Regions from separate parts of the Homo sapiens genome. Here region 2 is linked to region 1. Evidence: promoter capture Hi-C in human tissues and cell types (Jung and others, 2019). All regions are on one chromosome and are shown on one strand. The core of a region is centred on a gene start or on the middle of the fragment in contact, and the rest is flanking DNA. Distances in the headings are between cores, read along the strand shown.

The links. The method cuts DNA at HindIII sites, captures the fragments that hold promoters and counts their contacts. A contact is called where the count stands out against the background at its distance.
Region 2: a contact is called between a fragment that was not itself captured here and the fragment with the promoter of HSD11B1L in region 1, in 1 of the 25 tissues and cell types used here (dorsolateral prefrontal cortex).

The regions. Positions count from the first base shown.
Region 1 is chr19:5,679,690-5,682,490 of GRCh38, reverse strand. HSD11B1L (hydroxysteroid 11-beta dehydrogenase 1 like) reads right to left here and starts at 1,464. Exons shown (of 8, transcript NM_198706.3): 1 at 1,220-1,464. MICOS13 (mitochondrial contact site and cristae organizing system subunit 13) reads left to right here and starts at 1,975. Exons shown (of 4, transcript NM_205767.3): 1 at 1,975-2,033; 2 at 2,728-2,801. The coding sequence starts at 2,005. RefSeq lists a silencer at 1,287-1,496 and enhancers at 1,547-2,016, 2,027-2,126, 2,147-2,226, 2,257-2,366, 2,747-2,801. The HindIII fragment of the contact is 40,206 bases long and covers 1-2,801 here.
Region 2 is chr19:5,050,218-5,053,018 of GRCh38, reverse strand. All of the region lies in intron 6 of KDM4B (lysine demethylase 4B), which reads right to left. Among named protein-coding and RNA genes, the nearest start is that of KDM4B, 83 kb to the right of the region's middle. RefSeq lists an enhancer at 516-1,015. The HindIII fragment of the contact is 6,767 bases long and covers 1-2,801 here.

The sequences.
Region 1 (2,801 bases), core at 215-2,714:
CTCATGGTTTTCAGATCTTATCAGTTCTCCCTCTCCAGTCTCTCCCCAGCTGTCCCTTCCTCTCTCTCTCCAGGACTCCCAGATTGTCACCTCCCTCCTAGACCCTACCCCGGGCCTGACCACCCCCATCTTTCCTTTGGCCTCCCTTCCATCTCCGATTTGGTCTCCCCCACCTCCACACTGGCTTCCCCATGTCCATACTCATTCTCTCCCTGCCTCTTCTGTCAATGCAGCCAAAGGCGTCTGTGTCAAAAGCAACATGGCCATGGCCCTTCCTGCTCCAAACCCTCTCAGGGGTCCCCACTGCAACTGATGGAAACCAGGCTCCTCACTGCACCCCATGAGGCCCTGCAGGTATAGCCCCTGACTACCTGTCTATCCTTCTCTCCCACGGCCCCATCTATGAATCGTTCAGTTCTCAAAATAATGAACTCCTCACCTTTCCCAGACACACCAGGCATGCCCACAGCAAGAAACGAGCTTCCACCTTTTCCCCTTCCAGGGACAGCCCATGAAGCTCCTCTGCTCATCCCTCTTTCCACCCCCAGCTCTACACTGACTGCAGCAGCCCGGCAGGGGGAAGTGGGACCAGATGGACTGACGGGTGGACGGATGGGTGGATGGATGAATGGATAGATGGACAGATGCATGTATGGATGCATAGATAGAAGGATGGATGGGTGGATGGCCAGATGAATAGATGGATGGGTGGATGGATGGATGATGGACGGAGAGATGTATGGGTGGATAGATGGATGAGTGGATGGATGTATGAATGGATAAATGGGAACACATAAATGGATGGATGGATGGATGGATGGATGGACGGACGGATGCATGGATGGATGGATGGATGGATGGATGGATGGACGGATAGATGAGTGGGTGGCCAGATAAATAGATGGATGGGTGGACAGATGGATGAGTGGAAGGATGGGGGGAGCAGATGGATGAATGGATGGGCGGACAGATGGATGAACGGAAGTGTGGATGGATAGATGGAAGGATAGATGGGTGGATGGCCAGATGGATAGACGGGTGGGGGACAGATGGATGGATGGGCAGATGAACGGTTGAAGCAGCCCGGCCGAAATGCGGGAGAAATGGGGGGAAGCCCTGCAGAACGCATCGGCCCCTTCTTGACCTCGGCGGGCCTTAGCTTCCCCTCTGAACAAAGCGGGCGTGTGACCCTCTGCGCACCCCTAAACCGTGCACTCACCCGCTCAGGCCTCAGTTTCCCCCACTGTCCAGCGGGGGTGGGGTCCCGGGCTGGGAGCCACGCGAACGCCCCCACGGTCCTCTCTTCTCGGCCGCCTCCTGCCGGGTCCCCGACCGCACCCCCTCCCGTAGGGCACGGGTCACGTGACTCGAAGCCCACCTCCTCCCGGGGAGGGGCCGGGCCTCGGGGACCCAGCGCCGGAGCGTCGCCGGGCAACAGTGCCCGCCTGGTCTTCGCCTCCCAGCAGGGGCCCGGCCCCGCCCACTGGGCGGACGCCCCGCCTCCGAATCGATCACGTGAGGGGGCCGCAGCGCTCGAACAATCCCGCCCTCTCGTTGCCGTGACAACCGCCTTGTAGGCACACTCTTCTTAAATCCGGGCCCTTGGTCCCCCGCGCGGGCGCGGGTGGATCTCTCGGGCTCTGACTTGTTTTCGGGTCACCTTCAGGCTTCAGCCAGGCACCTGACGCCTCTTTCCCCTCACGGTGCCAGGGCCGGGCCGAACTACATTTCCCAGGAGGCTCCGCGGCCAGGTGCAAACAGCGCCGTGCTGACTACATTTCCCAGACAGCCTTGCGGCGGCCCGGGCCTTAAAGCGTCCATTTCCCAGCGGCCCTCCGCTGCGAGACCGCAGCCCTTCTCTGGAGTCTCAGAGCCGCAAGACACCACGACTCCCAGAGGACCTTGCGTCGGGCAAGAAAGACTACACCTTCCAGAGGCCTCTGCGGCGCCGCGACAGGAAGCGGCGGGCGAGCCGAGTGTCCTTGCGCGTGGATCCGAGCGACCATGGTGGCCCGGGTGTGGTCGCTGATGAGGTGCGTGGGGGCGCCGGAGGGGACCCGAGTCCCCGAAAAAGTCCATTTTTGTGGGCATCCCTGTCTCCAGTCTGGTCCCGATCTGCTCTTCGCTTCCCTTAGAGTCACTTCCCCTTCGTTCCCCGCCTATGGGCCAGATAGGGAAACTGAGGCTTCAGAGGGGCGGGGCTTCCCGAGGTCGCCAATCCCCTCCCTCCTGCTTCCCAGCGAGCCCTTGGCGTTCAGTTCGCGGTGTCAGCCTCCGCCTCCGAGCCTCAGTTGTCTTCTCTGTGAGGTGGGAATGCCGGTGAATCCTGCCGCTGGCGTGGATGAGAAGTGAATGCGTGCTCGGAGCTGCGAGTGACAGCGGGCAGGAGGCGCCCAGGGACACTTGGTTTCTCCAGGGCTGGAAGGCTTCTAGAAGGTCAAGATCTTACGTCTTCACTGCCCCTGCTCACTGTGGGACTTTGAGTGACCCACTCTCCCCCTCTGGGTTTCAGTTCATCAGTTCAAGTGGCGTCCAGCCGCCCTGCCTTGCACGTTGTAAAACGAGTGCTGTATATAATAGGGGTCTGGGTCGACGGTGCTGCACTACAGAGTGTCACCCTGTGGACGGTGAGCCCTCAGGAGGGTCTCACTCTCCCCGTGGGCCTTGGCCCCTGAGGGTGGCTGTCAGTGTCCGCTGAGCTTCTGCTCCTCCCGTCCCTGCCCGCAGGTTCCTCATCAAGGGAAGTGTGGCTGGGGGCGCCGTCTACCTGGTGTACGACCAGGAGCTGCTGGGGCCCAGCG
Region 2 (2,801 bases), core at 180-2,679, 630 kb after region 1:
TCTCTGCGGCCACCCAACCTCTGGTGGCCCAGCCAGAGCAAAGCGGCTGGGAGGAATGCCCCAGGTCACTGAGGGGGGCCATGCCTTACGGTCAGTAGACTGGGACCCTAGGTCCCCACTGCTGGTGGGACCCCCCGGGTCCCGGGCTCAGAAGCTGGAAGTCCCAGTGGTTGGCTCGCCAGCAGCAGCAGTACAAACCCACACCAGGGTCCCCGGGCGCCAGCGCGCTACCCCATGGGCCTTCAGGCTGCTGCCTGGGACGGGCTCGCCAGCTCCATCACCCACCAGACTCCTGGGTCCCACTCCAAGGGACAGGGCAGAGGCCATTGTGGGGCCCGACAGTGCCACCTGCAGCCAGACTGAGGGAGCCCAGGAGGGAGGGAGGTGTCTGCCCCCAGGCAGGAGCTGCCAGCAGGAGATGGAGCTGGGAGGCGGGTGGGCCAGGGAGGTCCTGAGGGGCAGTTAGGCGGGCAGCAGAGGGGTAAGGGAGCAGGCCCGCAGCCTCCACCCCAAGAACAGCCTGGCTTGGCCTGGGTGGGCGACAGACTCATCCACCCCAGGCTCTGCCTTCCACCCACCTGCGGCCACAGGGCAGGAAGCCCGGGCTGGTCCCCTGCAGCCCTGGAACCCACCCTCCCCACCCCCACCCTCCCCACCCCCACCCCCAGTGTCTGGAGCACGGTTCCTCGGTGCACACATGCGCCCATGCACACACACACATGCACGCACACCTCCAGGGACACCCATGAAGCAAAAGACGGCTATGCCTGCTAGGACTCAAGTTTCCCTGGCAGCAAGAAGAAAAGATGCTGTGAAATTCCCATGAGGGAAAACGCCAGAGAGAAAACTCAAGGTGTAGCTGAATCAAAAGGGAAAATTCTCGGCTTGCAGCTCCTTAAAGGTCAAGGGAGGCTGGTGGAGTCTTCTGATAATCCCCTCTCCCCTGGCCTCCCCAGCAGCCCTCCCCGCAGCACTCAGGAGGGTCTGGCTCATAGCAGCCCAGGATGGCCAAGAGCAACTGGGGGCTCCGTGCCCTTCACGGGAGCACAAGCTCCGAGACCCCCACCTCCCACACCTGCACCGGAGACTGAGTGTGTCCAAGGTAAACAGAGGCAGGAGAGGGTGGGCGGAGCGATCCCCTGAGGAAACAGCCAGAGATGAGACCATGGGGGACCCCCATCCTGCCTGGGGCAATGGGGGATTTCCAGACTGCCGCGGGTCATGGGCAGGTCAAGGTCGCAGTCCGGGCAAGCGCTCCTTCGCCCCGCTGCTCTTGGGGGCTTCACCTGGGTGCAGGATGACCCCCCTTCTGACAAGCGGAGCTGCAGAGACCCTGGGGGACACCCCCTTCCCTAAGCCTGAGCAGAGGCCTCTGTGGCTGCCACGCACCTGCGCTGGCCCCGCGGCACTCCTCAGGAGGGCCTTCCTCTCGCCGCCTTGGAGCCAGTGCAAGCAGCTGACCATGTCCCATCAGCTCACGACGTCCTCGGGAGTCCCTGCAGCCCCAGGAACATGCTGATCCCCCATCTGGCTTCCCTGCTGCAGTGAGAGCCAAAGCTTCTGCTCTTGGCGGTGGCCCACAGTCCCCTAAACACCCCAACACTGCCCTGCAGGGTGTCTGATGGGTTGGGGGCAAAAGGGGACCCGAAGCCTCGGCCAGGTCCCAGCCCGGCACATGGGTGCACAGGACTGAACAGTGGGCACTTTCCCAGGCAGCGTGGGCCAGGGCCCTCGAGGGGGGATGGCCACTCCACTCTCTTCTTTGGGGTGCACAGCACAATCCGAATGACCCAGAAGTGCCCTGGGACCAGCAACTCTCTCAGGGCTGGCCGAGACCCAACATCCTCCCACCCCGGCCTGGAACTCTCTTCTAGGGGCATGTGGCATGTGATGCTGCTGGCGACACTGCGCTCAGCCTCGTGGCGACGCCTGTGTTTCGTGCCTGGCCCGGGCGGCTCAGGAGGGTGGGCCCTGCAGGGGCTGCCACAGGTGCAGGTTGGGGAGGGGATGCCTGGAGGGGAACAGCCGCAGGACCGGCCTTGGAGGGTCAGCTCGGCTAAACCACCCCCACCCCAGGTTCCAGGAGGGTCTTTTTATTTATTTATTTTTTATTTATTTTGAGACGGAGTCTCACTCTGTCGCCCAGGCTGGAGTGCAGGGGTGTGATCTCCGCTCACTGCAAGCTCCGCCTCCTGGGTTCACACCATTCTCCTGCCTCAGCCTCCCGAGTAGCTGGGATTATAGGCACCTGCCACCACACCCGGCTCATTTTTTGTATTTTTAGTAGAGACGGGGTTTCACCGTGTTAGCCAAGATGGTCTCGATTTCCTGACCTCATGATCCAACCGCCTCAGCCTCCCAAAGTGCTGGGATTACAGGCGCAAACCACCGCGCCTGGCCCCAGGAGAGTCTTGATCTATGGCAAGGAGTGTGGCCTGGGACAGTGGCTTCTATGGGGCACAGCCTTCAGGACACCGACCCCAGGCCACCACCCCACCCAGGAAGACCCTGGAATACAGGGTCAAGTGGAAAGCTCGGACCCTCCCCACACCCACCTGCACTCCGGCCCCCCCGGCCTGGGTGACAGAAGGGGCTGCGGGAAGTTGGCGGGGGGAAGTTGCAGGTGCTGGCTCTGGTTTCAATCCGCATTGCCAAAGAGATTTTGAGGCGCTCAGTCTCTTCAGATATTCTTAGCCCCGCTGCCTGAGAGCACCACAGAAGCCAGCCTTTTGAAGCATGTTTCTGCCTGTTATTGACACCAGGCTGTTCACGTCACTTTGACACACAAATCAAGCTACCAA